4 separate regions of the Homo sapiens genome follow, and regions 2, 3 and 4 are each linked to region 1. Evidence: promoter capture Hi-C in 16 types of primary human blood cells and fetal thymus (Javierre and others, 2016). All regions are on one chromosome and are shown on one strand. Each heading gives the region's core, a stretch centred on a gene start or on the middle of the fragment in contact. The rest is flanking DNA. Distances are from core to core; before and after follow the strand shown. Region 1 holds the start of CNN2 (calponin 2). Region 2 holds the start of GAMT (guanidinoacetate N-methyltransferase). Region 3 holds the start of BSG (basigin (Ok blood group)). Region 4 holds the start of POLRMT (RNA polymerase mitochondrial).

The links. Contacts are between HindIII fragments. The CHiCAGO score rates a contact against its expected background, and 5 or more counts as called.
Region 2: a contact is called between the fragment with the promoter of GAMT here and the fragment with the promoter of CNN2 in region 1, in 2 of 17 cell types (M0 macrophages and monocytes). The highest score is 7.7, in M0 macrophages.
Region 3: the fragment with the promoter of BSG here is called in contact with the fragment with the promoter of CNN2 in region 1 in 1 of 17 cell types (erythroblasts); the score reaches 7.9 in erythroblasts.
Region 4: a contact is called between the fragment with the promoter of POLRMT here and the fragment with the promoter of CNN2 in region 1, in 1 of 17 cell types (non-activated CD4 T cells). The highest score is 7.0, in non-activated CD4 T cells.

What each region holds. Positions count from the first base shown.
Region 1 is chr19:1,024,777-1,027,900 of GRCh38, reverse strand. CNN2 (calponin 2) reads right to left here and starts at 1,293. Exons shown (of 7, transcript NM_004368.4): 1 at 1,177-1,293. The coding sequence starts at 1,239. RefSeq lists a silencer at 1,006-1,645 and an enhancer at 1,636-2,367. The HindIII fragment of the contact is 13,555 bases long and covers 1-3,124 here.
Region 2 is chr19:1,400,071-1,403,275 of GRCh38, reverse strand. GAMT (guanidinoacetate N-methyltransferase) reads left to right here and starts at 1,734. Exons shown (of 6, transcript NM_000156.6): 1 at 1,734-1,980. The coding sequence starts at 1,800. RefSeq lists a silencer at 1,417-1,996. The HindIII fragment of the contact is 12,931 bases long and covers 1-3,205 here.
Region 3 is chr19:570,681-574,014 of GRCh38, reverse strand. BSG (basigin (Ok blood group)) reads right to left here and starts at 1,419. Exons shown (of 9, transcript NM_001728.4): 1 at 1,314-1,419. The coding sequence starts at 1,380. It overlaps BSG-AS1 (BSG antisense RNA 1), which reads left to right and starts at 1,767. Exons shown (of 3, transcript NR_184018.1): 1 at 1,767-1,906; 2 at 2,419-2,575. RefSeq lists silencers at 1,079-1,258, 1,429-1,648 and enhancers at 2,469-2,518, 2,599-3,171. The HindIII fragment of the contact is 7,021 bases long and covers 1-3,334 here.
Region 4 is chr19:632,021-634,904 of GRCh38, reverse strand. POLRMT (RNA polymerase mitochondrial) reads left to right here and starts at 1,368. Exons shown (of 21, transcript NM_005035.4): 1 at 1,368-1,480; 2 at 1,967-2,071. The coding sequence starts at 1,393. It overlaps LOC105372234 (a long non-coding RNA gene), which reads right to left and starts at 1,441. Exons shown (of 2, transcript XR_936226.2): 1 at 1,010-1,441; 2 at 1-921. RefSeq lists silencers at 1,155-1,414, 1,425-1,584. The HindIII fragment of the contact is 10,035 bases long and covers 1-2,884 here.

The DNA.
Region 1 (3,124 bases), core at 44-2,543:
GGAAGCAGGAATTCTCCCTCCAGTCTGCCGGCCCTGGAGTGCCGCCGGGCAGGTGGCTGTTGGGGCTGGCAGGGCCGGTGCCCTCAGAGCGTGCAGAGGCAGTTTCCCCTGCAGAAGTCAGCTGTAAGGACACCTTCCCAGGTGCCCAGTGGGCGTCGGGGGAGGGGGTGGGCGGGGACGACACCCCCCTCCAGCTGGAAGGTCCTGGAGGGTCAGGTCCCGGTCCTGTCCGTGGGTCTCGCATCACAACCCCCGCCCCCCACTTTCCCTGGGAATCCTGTCCAGGACCCTGCTGTGTGACCCTGCAGAAGTGTCTGGTCCTCTCTGAGCTAGAACCACAAGTGCTCTCTTAAAAAGTGTCTCCCCTAGCCCTGGCTTGTTTTTAATTATAGAGATGGGGTTTCGCCATGTTGCCCAGACTGGTCTCGAACTCGCTGGGCTCAAGCCATCCACCCAGCTCCGCCCCCCAAAGTGCTGGGATTACGGGCGTGAGCCCCCGCGCCCTGCCGGGCCCCAGCTCTTCTTTCGAGGCTGCAAAACCCCACATATCTCAGGGCCACCTTCAGAGAACCTCTTTGTTATCCGTTTAAATTAGTCAGATGGGAGACAAAGACCGTGCAAAGCGGCTACCGCCCCTCCCCCCAAGACACCCCCAAGGTGTCCCAGAGGCCAGGAAATTCCTGTTTGTGGGGGGGTAACACTTCTCAAAAACCACTCGGCCATGCCCCTTCCCCTCCCAAAGCTAAGAGGCCCCAAAAGCAGAAGTGTGGCCAGGAGATGACGGGGTTGCTGGGGTCCCCCCCAGACCCCCAGAGCGTTGTCGGACCTTGAACGGACCTTCTCGAAGGTTGAGTGGGCGCCAGGGGCTTCACACGTGGGGGTCCTGGGGCCATGGCGAGGGGACGAAGTCAGACCCAACTACCCCTAGATGTTGGGGGGGGGAATGGGTCACTCGTCCCCCAGATCTCAGACCTGGGTGCTCCCCAAGATTCGCGGGAGCCTCAGGGGGTGCCCGCAGACATCCCCCCACCAGGCGTCAGGGAGAACAAGGGCCCGTCCGCCCCGGGTCTCCAAGCTCCCTGCCCGGGAGGTGCCGGGGGCGCCTGGGGGCTCCTGCACCGGTCGGAGCGTGCGACGGCCGCGCTGTCGGGGGGACAAGGGGCGCCCCTCACTCACCCGGTTCTTGACCTCGGCCGACAGCCCGTACGAGGGGCCCTTGTTGAACTGCGTGGAGCTCATGGCTGGCGGGCGGGCGGCGGGACGGGGCCGCACAGGACGGGACGGGACGGGACCGCCGGGCTGGCGCGGGGTTGGGACGCGCCGGGCTCCGCGCGCCACGCCCCCGCCGCTGATTGGCCCGGAGCGCAAATGTCCTTATAAGGCCTGGAGGCGCCGAATTCCTGCGGCCGCGGACTTCCTGAGCCCCCTCGGTCGCCCCCGGACCCCCGCCTGGGCACAGCACCCCCGTCACCAGAGGCCTGGAGGGGCCCCTCGCCCCCTTTGATGCCACGGGAAACTGAGGCAGGGAGGGGCCGAGGCCGCCGGGACGTGGCACTCCTGCGGGCTCTCTGCTCAGAGCTCGTGGGCGGCTCTCACTCTTTCTCCATCTCAGACTTCTCTTCTGCCAGAAAGGGGAGGGGAGAAGGCTACCTTTGGGGCAGGAATGAGGGCCCCTCTCTGCCACTTAGAGGCGTCTAACCCCTTCCCAGGGAACTCTACTAGCTGGGAGGTGGACCAGGGAACCAGGGCAGGTTCCTCAGAGAAGGGGCCATTGGAGCTGGGGCTTTGTTGGATGAGTAGGAGTTTGTCAGTCCAAAAGAGAATAGGATTCTTACTGGGTGCGGTAGCTTGCACCTGGAGTTCTAGCTACTTGGGAGGCTGAGGCCGAAGGGGGAGGATCCGTTGAGCCCAAGAGGTCGAAGCTGCAGTGAGTTATCATCACAACATGACGCTCCAGCCTGGGCAGCAGAGCAAGAGCCTCTCTCTAAAAATAAATAAATAAATAAAAATAAAAATCCGAGTGGCTCACGCCTGCAATCCCAGCACTTTGGAAGGCCGAGGCGGGCGGATCACTTGAGGTCAGGAGTTCCAGACCAGCTTGGCTAACATGGCGAAACTCCGTCTCTACTAAAAATACAAAAATTAGCCGGGCATGGGGGCACATGCCTGTAATTCCAGCTACTGAGGAGGCTGAGGTGGGAGGATCACTTGAAGCCAGGAGGCGGAGGTTGTAGTAAGTCGAGATCGCGCCACTGCACTCCAGCCTGGGCGACAGAGCAAGACTCCGTCTTAAAAAAAAAAACAAAAAAAAAAAACACAAAAAAACCCTAATAATAATAAATTATTAAAAAGTCTCCGGGACAGTCTCCTGCCAGGCAGTGCTGGCTCTCAGGAGACCTTAGCTCTGGCCCAGCCCATGCCCAGGAAGACAGAGCTGGCACAGACCAACCCCCAACCCGGATTCCCTGTATGAGCCAGCACAGGCGGAACCCCCCCACCCCGCCCACCCTGTTTCCCTATATGAGCAAGTACAGGACAGAATGAGAGGCTTGGGGCTGGAGGAACTGGAGGGAGAGTTGGGGCTCTGTCGGAGGAATCAAGGAAAGCTGCATGTAAGAGGAGGCAAGGGAGATGGGGTTTTGAAGCATCAATAGGAGTTTGACACATTTTATTTTATTTTATTTTATTTTATTTTATTTTATTTTATTTTATTTTATTTTTAGTAGAGATGGGGTTTCACCATGTTGGCCAGGCTGGTCTCGAACCCCTGACCTCAGGTGATCCACCCGCCTCAGCCTCCCAAAGTACTGTGATTACAGGCTTGAACCACTGCACCTGGCCGACCCATGTCATTTTAGACCAGTGCTGACCATTTCTGTTATTCTGAGATGAAGGAAATTTTCAATGTGGCACTATCTACTACTGTAGCCACTGGCCATGGGGCTACTGAGCACTGGAAGTGTGGCTGGTGCCATCAGGGAAGCAAATACTTCATGTTCTTTTTATTTTATTTTATTATTATTTTTTGAGACGGAGTCTCGCTCTGTCACCCAGGCTGGAGTGCAGTGGCGCAATCTTGGCTCACTGCAAGCTCCACCTCCTGGGTTCACGCCATTCTCCTGCC
Region 2 (3,205 bases), core at 485-2,984, 370 kb before region 1:
GGCGGGTGAATCACGAGGTCAGGAGATCAAGACCATCCTGGCTAACATGGTGAAACCCCGTTTCTACTAAAAATACAAAAAAAAAAAAAAAAAAAAAAAATTAGCCGGGCTTGGTGGCGGGCGCCTGTCATCACAGCTACCCAGGAGGCTGAGGTAGGAGAATCGCTTGAACCCGGGAGGCAGAGGTTGCACTGAGCCAAAATCATGCCACTGCACTCCAACCTGAGCAACAGAGTGAGACTCTGTCTCAGAAAAACAAAAACAAACAAAACAGCTTCTGACCAGGACATGCCTGTCCTGGGGCAGAATGGGGGTGTCTCCTAGAGGACACGTGGGCTCAGCTTGAGACAGAACGAGAAAGCGGCCTGACCAGGAGAGAGGCTGTCTGGGCAAGGGGAAGAGCGTGTGCCAAGGCCCGGGGCTAAGGAGCTGTGCAAGAGGTGGCAGGGGCATGTGGAGGCGTTGAGCAGGCAGTGATGGGGCAGGCAGCTACCCAGACAAGGTGGCGCAGGGAAGGCCGCGCGCGGGAGCTGTTTCCGAGGCTGCCTGCGTTCACACCGTGGCCCTGCTGCAACCTGTGAACCTCAACCTCTCTGGGCCTCAGTTTCCCTCGTGTTAAATGGGCATAATAACTGCATCTGTTAACCCGTGCAGAACGCACGGCAGGCAGGCAGGCAGGCAGGCAGGCAGTGCTCAGGGCTCATGACTGTGGCCCCACGTTCAGAGGGGGAAGGAAACCGGCTATCAGAGCCAGGACGCCACCGCAGCGGGCTTGGGGGCCCCCAGGAAACAGGCGGGGGGTGTGCTTGACCCTAAGGGGCTACCCTGGGCTGGGGGAGGCCTAATTCCACCCCCGCACACCCCAGCTGCAGGGCCGCCGGAGGAAAGGGCACTGCTGGGATTGAGTCCTGGTCTCCAGAACTGGAGGCGTCTTTGGGCGGAATCCCCCATTAGGGACCCGGGGTCTCAGATGACCCCCAGCCTATGGGGGTGTGACATGGGCTCATGAAAGGGGGGCATCAGAGCTCTAATGCTGGGTCCCCACCCTCGTGGCCACCAGACCACCGGCTTTGCTTCTCAAAGCCTCAGTTTCCACATCTGTAAAATGACAGTCGGCTGCTCTATGGAGTAGCCATTCATTTTTATTCCTTAATAAACTTGCTTTCAAAAAAGAAAGGAAGGAAGGAAGGAAGGAAAAACGACAGTCATCATAGAACCTGGCGGGCGCGGTGGCTCACGCCTGTAATCCCAACACTTTGGGAGGCTGAAGCGGGAGGATCGCTTGCGCCCAGGAGTTTGAGACCAACCTGGGCAACATAGCAAGACCCCGTCTCTATTAAAAAAAGACAGAACTCACTGTAGCATCTTCTGAAGATTAAATGATTTTAAACACTTAAAGCACTTCCAACAGCGCCTGGAAGATCCTCAGATTCTCACACCCCAGCGAGGAGGGGGCCTTTCTGCGGTGCTGACAGATGAGGAATCTATGGCGCGTAAGCGGCAAGGCGGGGATTCCAGTCCCCAGCCTGCAGGTTCGCGTCCCCGGGCGCGGGGCTGCGGTGCCCGCTCCGCAGAGGGGGCACCGAGGCTCCTTGGGGAGGGGGCGGCCGGGGCCCCGACCCCACTCCCGCCACCTCTCGCGTGGCCGCCGCTAGAGGCCGCTCCCGGAGCCGCGCGCGCGCGTCCTCTCGCGGGTCCGCCCCCCGGGCCTGTTGGACCCGCCCCCGGCCCACAAGCCCCTGCAGGGAGCGGGCCCGGGCGGCGCGCGATCGAGGTCGGGTCGCCGTCCAGCCTGCAGCATGAGCGCCCCCAGCGCGACCCCCATCTTCGCGCCCGGCGAGAACTGCAGCCCCGCGTGGGGGGCGGCGCCCGCGGCCTACGACGCAGCGGACACGCACCTGCGCATCCTGGGCAAGCCGGTGATGGAGCGCTGGGAGACCCCCTATATGCACGCGCTGGCCGCCGCCGCCTCCTCCAAAGGTAGCCCCCGCCCGGCCTGCACCGCCCCCGGGGGCGCAGGGGAAACTGAGGCCGGGGCTGCCCCGACCCGGGGACTCTGCAGCCCACCCTCCCGCCGGGGCGCCTCTGTCTCCTCGCCTGGGAAGTGGGGCTGCAGGTGGGGGCACACGGAGGCGTTCACGGGGAGTGCGGCAGGCGTGGGGCCCGCACACGTTAGGCACCGCCTAAGTACCAGAAACTTCCTCTCCAGGGGGAGTGAGGCCCCCCGCTCTCCAGATGGGGACCTCAAACGTGAGACCTGGGTGAAACTGGGTGGAACCGGGTCCCCAGCTCCCTGTCTGAGGTCGGGAGGAAGGGGTCGTGCCAGGGAGAGGCTGCCCTTCTGCCTGCCTGGGAGAGCAGCCCCGACTCGCCCGGCTAAGAATAGCACTCGGAAAGCTGAGCTCAGGGAGACAGCTGTCCCCGGGGTGGCCCTGGCCTGCCTGGCGTCAGACGCTAAGGGCTGCTAAGAAAGGACTCCCTGGCCCCACACAGGCCCCGTCCAGGGGTCGGGCCTCAGTGTTCCCACCCTGAAAATGGGCACGTCCAGTGTCCAGTGCCAATCAGGATTGAGCGGGGGGCCCATGTGTGGCCCACTGGGGACCAGTCCTTCCCCTCCCAGATAGTCTCAAGTCCAGGTCTTGCCTGGCCACTCTTGCAAATCCAACTTTCGGATAGAGGGAGGGGGAGAGAAAAGTAACTAACCCGAGAGATAAGGGACCCGGGACAAACAGCGTGGGCTGGGCTCAAAGTCCAAGGCTCTCGCCTCCCCACAGGCCTGGCCCCAAAAGCGGCCGTCTTCGGCCTCCCTGGCTGGTCATCCTCTCTCTGGCCGCTGGCCAGGGCCCACGCTGTTCCCGCTCAGGACTACTGTGTTCCGCCCGCCTCTGTCCATGCTGGCCCAGGGTGCCCTCCCGTCCTGTGGCAAATGTGACTCACATAGCCTAGTTCAGCCCTGCACCCCCTCCTCCAAGCAGACCCCCAGCTCAGCCCTGCCCTACCCTGTGCCCCCTCCTCCAGGAAGCCTCCCCAGCCCTGCTCTGCACCCCCTCTTCCAGACAGCCTCCCCAGCCCTGCATCCCCTCCTCCTGGCAGCCTCTCCAGCCCTGCCCCGCACCCCCTCCTCCAGGCAGCCTCCCCAGCATTGCCCCACACCCCCTCCTCCAGGCAGCCTCTCCAGCCCTGCTCTGCACGCCCCCCTCCAGGC
Region 3 (3,334 bases), core at 170-2,669, 450 kb after region 1:
CCAAAGTGCTGGGATTACAGGTGTGAGCCACCACGCCCGGCCTCACTATAAATCTTTAACCCAGAACCAAATGGGGGTCTCAACAAAGGAAGAAATTTTCTATGAAGCAAGAAAGGATGTCATGCTTTTCTCCCGGAAAAACACACCTCAATCCATTTCCCAAATGCGCTCTCCAAACCACGTTTGCCCACCCTCAACACACGGCCCTCCTAAGACAGCACTGGAAACCGAATGCGGGTCAGAGTCGGCTAAAAACGACTTTCTCACTATTTCCTGCGCTGAATCGGGTGGCCAGGGCCCCCTCACTGTGACCTTGGAACCTCGACTTCCCACAGGGCTGTTTCCTCGCCTGTAAAGGAGGAGGGGCGTTCAGAGACCACCTCATTCTGGGTGCTGAATCCAGGCAGAATCAGAGGGAGATTCCGCCTTCCCTTCCACGCAGGGCCCCTCGAGGGAGCCTGCGAGGTCTTAAGAGTCTGGGAGAACACCCGGGGGCAGGTGCACGCCCTAGGCAAGACGCCAGGGCTAAATCCCGTGAAGAACGGTAATCCCTTCCCGATCCGGAGGGCTGACCCACTCAGAGCCTCCATGTGCTCTTGGAGGACAAAAGCCCCTTTTCCAGAAGGGAGCGCCAAGATGATCGCTCCAGGCCGCACGGGCCCTTGCGGGGGCCCCAGAGAGTCTCAGGGGAGGGTCTCTGACCCTAACACTCGCAGGCAGGGTGGACCCGTCTCCAGATTCCACGCCCAGGCCGCTTTCCCCAGGTCCTGCGGAGTCCAGCCCCAGCAGGACGGGTTGGGCAGGCACCAACCAGCCCCTGACCCCTGGCTCCAGGCCAAAGGGGACGCTCACCCAGGCTTTGGGTCTCCCTTCTCCTGGCCGATGGGACCGGCGGGCGGGCCACCTCCAACCGCCTTCGCAGACGCCCTCACCCAGGAAGCAGGTCACCCCCAACCCCAGGTGACCGAAAAGCAAGACGCCCACCTCCCCTGACCAAGACCGGCCTGGCCAGGACCCCCTGGCTCCCGCCTCCAAGCAGGGAGCTTCACGCCCACACACAGAGGCCGGGCTCGAGGCCGGAGCGCCCGGGGGAGCCCGGCAGGCCGCGCCGGGAGGAACCTCTAGTCCCCCCTCAAACCCTGGGACTTCACCCCCAAGCTCCATGCTGGCGCGGGAAGCCCCCGGGGCCGGCCTTTCGCACCCCAGGCCGCCCCGCGCCGAGGCCCCAGGCTCCCGTCGGCTTCGGGTCGGCACCGCGGCCTCCATTCCCGGCCCCTGCAGGACCGCACCCCCGCCCCCTACCCGCTCCTCACCAGCCCCGGAGGCTCCGTGGGTGCCCAGCAGCGCGAATCCCAGCAGCACGAACAGCGCAGCCGCCATGATTCCTATTCCTCGCCGGTCCTACAACCTCCAACCGCTGCCGCCGCCGCCCGCGGCCGCTATAAAAAGCGGCGGAGGCGCGGACCGGGCGCGCGCACGCACGGCGTCATCTCGGGGGCGGGGCGAGCGCCGGGGACGCCGGTCGCCCCGCCTGCGCACGCGCGCACACGCTCGCATGTACGCGCCGGCTCCGGCAGGCTCACGCTACGGAATCCGGGCGGCGGCGCACGTGACCCGGCGTTGCTAGGAAACGGGAGTGGGGCCTGCGGGGACGCGGCTGGAGCCTGCGCATTTCTTCCTTCCTGCTTTCAAAGTTGCAATGAGCGCAGAGCGGTGCGCCCGAGGGGGTTGAAGCGTTGAAAGTGTGTTACCCAGATTTTATCTGAGTTAAACACGGGCCGGCCGCTGTGGCTCACGTCTGTACTCCCAGAGCCTTGGGAGGTCGAGGCGGGAAGATCGCTTGAGCCCGGGAGCTCGAGACCAGACGCGGCAACATGGCGAGACGCACATCTCTGCCTTTAAAAATGTACATATATATATATATATATGAACGTATTAATAAATTAGGTGGGAGGAAGTGACCTCCTCCGCCCAAATAAAAATACTTAAAGGGCACTTGAATCTGGATCTCAGAAAATGAATAATTTCTTAGTATAAACGTCCTGTGCACCATTTGGTTGGGACAAGTAAGTTCCTCTTCAGAAACTCAACTTCCAGGTCTAAAGTTGTCAATCAACCTTACCCCCTTCTTCTTTCCTCGCAGGTGGCGCGTTTACCCTATTTTAAAAAAGTTTTAAGTTTTAGCCAACCGGGATCAGCTTAGATTGTGGGCGTCCAACCCCAGCCAACAGGGAAAGGACAGAGGAACAGAAGCTCCCTTCCTTTGTCCCGTGTGCTCTGGAGATTGCATCCCACGCAGGCAGCCCCCTTCCGTACAAGTAAAGTGGTCTCGCTGAGAAATTTTCTAAGTGCTGGTTTCTCTTTGCGGGACCGACTCGCCGCCCCCAAATATCCCATTTGGATCCCATTCTGTTTCAGGAGAGGCTGGCGGTTACCTTTCTTGGGGAGACGCGTCCGACTGCTTCATTGTGGGGGCCTCAGGAGCGGAGGATCGGGTCCCGCCCGAGGTGACGCGTAAACCCAGACTCTCAGCAACGCGGGTAGGAAGGACCCTTGAAGTTCCGCGGCGACCACGGTGAGAAAAGTCGCTATTGGGGCGACACAGGTGGGGGCGTCTCTTGGAGGTTGAAAGTGTGTGTTGGAAGTTAAACTCGGAGTCGCAATGCAAGAGGACCGCAGACTAAGCCGAACGCGAAGGGCTAACTGGAAAGGGGCAGGAATGTGGCTACACTGGCGGGAAGAGCCCGTGGCGACGGGAGGGGGATGTGCAGAGTGGGTGGCAGGTGCCATCTCTGCAGATCAGGACCGGCGGGAAACTTGTTTACTGAGACTCAGACGGGGAGGCCCAGAGGGTGAGGAAGTCAGGTTGGCCTTGGAAGTAGGAAACGAAGAACGAGGGCGCTGAACGAGCCAAACCTTTGAAGAGGAACTTGTGAATGAATGAGACGCGCCATATCTTTTGTGTGTGTGTGTGTTGGAGTCTCGCTGTGTCACCCAGGCTGGAGTGCAGCGGCGCGATCTCGACTCTCTGCAACCTCCGCCTCCCGGGTTCAAGCGATTCTCCTGCCTCAGCCTCCTGAGTAGCTGGGATTACAGGCGCGCACCACCACGCCCGGCTAATTTTTGTATTTTTAGCAGAGACGCCCCATATCTAAAGAAGGGTGGGATCCTCTAGACCACCTTCCCCCACTCACCCCTCCGCCCCTCCCAACCCACCCCCTCCGCCCCTCCCAACCCACCCCCTCCGCCCCTCCCAACCCACCCCCTCCGCCCCTCCCAACCCACCCCCTCCGCCCCTCCCAACCCACCCCTCCGCCCCCCCCACCCACCCACC
Region 4 (2,884 bases), core at 119-2,618, 390 kb after region 1:
CAAAGTGCTGGGATTACAGGCCTGAGGCACTGAACTGACCTCCCTTTGCACTTTTTTTTTTTTGAGACAGGTTCTCGCTCTGTCACCCAGGCTGGAGTGCAGTGGCGAGATCTTGGCTCACTGCAACCTCCGCCTCCCGGGTTCAAGCGATTCTCCTGCCTCAGCCTCCCGAGTAGCTGGGATTACAGGTGCCCGCCACCACCCCCGGATAATTTTTGTATTTTTACTAGAGACGGGGTTTTGCCATGTTGCCAGGCATGCTTGCGTATTTGCCAAGCTGGTCTCGAACTCTGACCTTAGGTGATCCGCCCGCCTCAGCCTCCCAAAGTGCTGGGATGACAGGCCTGAGCCACCAAACCAGCTCCCCTTTGCAACTGGGATATTAGCCTGGAACACAGTTACCCCCAGATATTCCTATTCTCACCCTTCCCAAGCCTACTGCCCCACAGCAGGCGCTCCCGCCTCTGGCCTGCTGCCCCGGCTGAACGACACAGGTGGGCACACCTTCCAGGTTCCATTCTAAAGCTCCCGCCCTGCTCCTCCTAGGCAGGATCACGCGGAGACCAGGGCAGGCTCTAGGCTCCGAGGTTTATTTCATTCCCTTGACCTCACCCCACTTAGCAGGTGAATCCAAGCCTGCCGCTCCATTCGGCTCCTGCCCCTGAGGGCTTGGGGATTGGAGGGTAAACTGAAGCTGGAGGCTGGGAGTCTCGCGGACTGGGGCTTTCTCTCCTTGCAGCCTCCCTGAGGTCGCACGTGCTGTGTCTTCCAGCAACTTGGTGGCCCTCTCTGAGCCTCAGCTTCCTCCATGATAGACGGCATCCTAATGACTCTTACCCAAAAGTTGTCGTTGGAGCAATGAAGGTTGCGGACAGGAATCTCTAAATTGCAGATGCTGTCCTCGTTATTAGATGAGTATGCCTTGAAAAAAAAAAAAAAAAAGCCGGGCACGGTGGCGGCGTCTGCAATCCCAGCGCTTTGGGAAGCCGAGGGGCGAGGATCTCTTTACCCCAGCAGTTCGAAGCTGCACTGAGCTATGATCACGCCACTGCACTCCAGCCTGGGCCACAACGCGTCCAAAACAAAACCAAAAAAGAAAGAAAAACAGAAAAAAAGTCCGGATTTGAGGTCCTCGGGAAAACAGCCTGAGAGTGCCTCCCAGTTGCCACGGCAACAGCTCTGTCCCGCCCCCTCCCTTTAAAAACAGCAGGAGGAACCAATCAGAGCGTCCACCGGCGCATGCCTTCGCGCCTCCGCTGCATCCTGGGAGTCTACTTCCGGCTGGGGTTTCCCTTCGCAGCCTCCGTCGACCATGAAACCACAACTCCCGGCAGGCGGCGCGGGCGCATGCGCAGGCGCGGGCCGGTGGGGTGGCCTGGAGCGGCGTGCGTAATGTCGGCACTTTGCTGGGGCCGCGGAGCGGCGGGGCTCAAACGAGCCCTACGGCCTTGCGGCCGCCCGGGACTCCCCGGCAAAGAAGGTAACACAAAGGGAGACGGCCAGGCAGCCCGGGGGCCACGGCGTGGGCTCCTCCCCGCGCGGCCGGGGCCTTTGGCGCTTTGACCTTTGCCTCTTTGCACCTGGGCGTGCGCAGCCCACCGACCCGGCCCCGCTTTCCACTCGCCCTTGCCCGCTTTTCGACTGAGGCTCCTCCGTGCAGTCTGACCTTTGACTCGTGGTTTCTTATGCAGCCTCCTGACCCCAGGTGTGGTGTTTAGGGCTCTTAACCTTTGACCTGCTGCACCTCGAGTGCGAGGAACCCTCTCTCGGCGGTTCCGCGCCCGTGTTCGCCGCGGCGGGGCCCTTCCACCTTCGCTGTCTTAGTTTCTTTCCAACTTAAGCCCGTGCTCCGAGAGTTTCCGCTGCGTTTAGGGCTCCTTTGCCCTTCGACCCTTCGGCTTCTGCCTTTATGGAGGCCCCCGCCCACACGCCCGGCCCCGCTCAGCCGCTCTCGTCTTTCCCGCAGGGACCGCCGGTGGCGTCTGCGGCCCCAGGAGGAGCTCGTCCGCCAGCCCCCAGGAGCAAGACCAAGACCGCAGGAAGGACTGGGGCCACGTGGAGCTGCTGGAGGGTGAGCGCGACCCCCACGGCGGCCCGGGAGAGGAGAGTCCGCTCCCTGCTGCCGGGAGAAAAGGCAAAGGCTCAGATTCTGAGACAGGCTGAGGGCGGTCTCCACCTCTCGGGTCCCAGGACACGCCCAGACGGCGTTGCTGAAACATCTCTTGCACCGCTCATGGGCCCTGTCCTTGCTGAGCAGGCTCCTTCCTGGAGCTCTCGTAATTCCCCCTCCCCAGAACCCCACCAGGTGCTCCCACTTTCCAGGGACATAGGTGAGGCCCAAGATTATGTCTGGAGAGACCCCCCCCCCGGCCCCGCCGCCAAGGCCACATGTGCAGAGCCAGGATGTGAACCCTGAACTGACTCAGCTGTCCTGGCTTGGCTCTGGGGGGTAGGCGCCTAATGGAGACTGGATGACTGCGAAACTTGGGAGGGACAGCCCAGGCTCCAGCGGTGGCAGGCCCTCGTCCTGGCCTGGCTGGTGGTGTGGGAGGGAGGTGGGAGCTTCCCTGTGCTTGCTTCCCGCCGGTGCTTCTGTCCCACATCCTGTCTGCGTCCATTAGGCAGCCGGGAAGGGAGAGGCGGGAGAACCTTTATAAAGGGAAAAAACCTGGCCAGGTGCGGTGGCTCACGCCTGTAATCCCAGCACTTTTGGGTGGCCGAGGTGGGCGGATCAAGAGGTCGGGGGTTCGAGGCCTGGTGCGGTGGCTCACGCCTGTACTCCCAGCACTTTTGGGTGGCCAAGGTGGGCGGATCAAGAGGTCAAGGGTCCGAGGCCTGGTGCGGTGGCTCACGCCTGTAATCCCAGCACTTTGGGAGGCCGAGG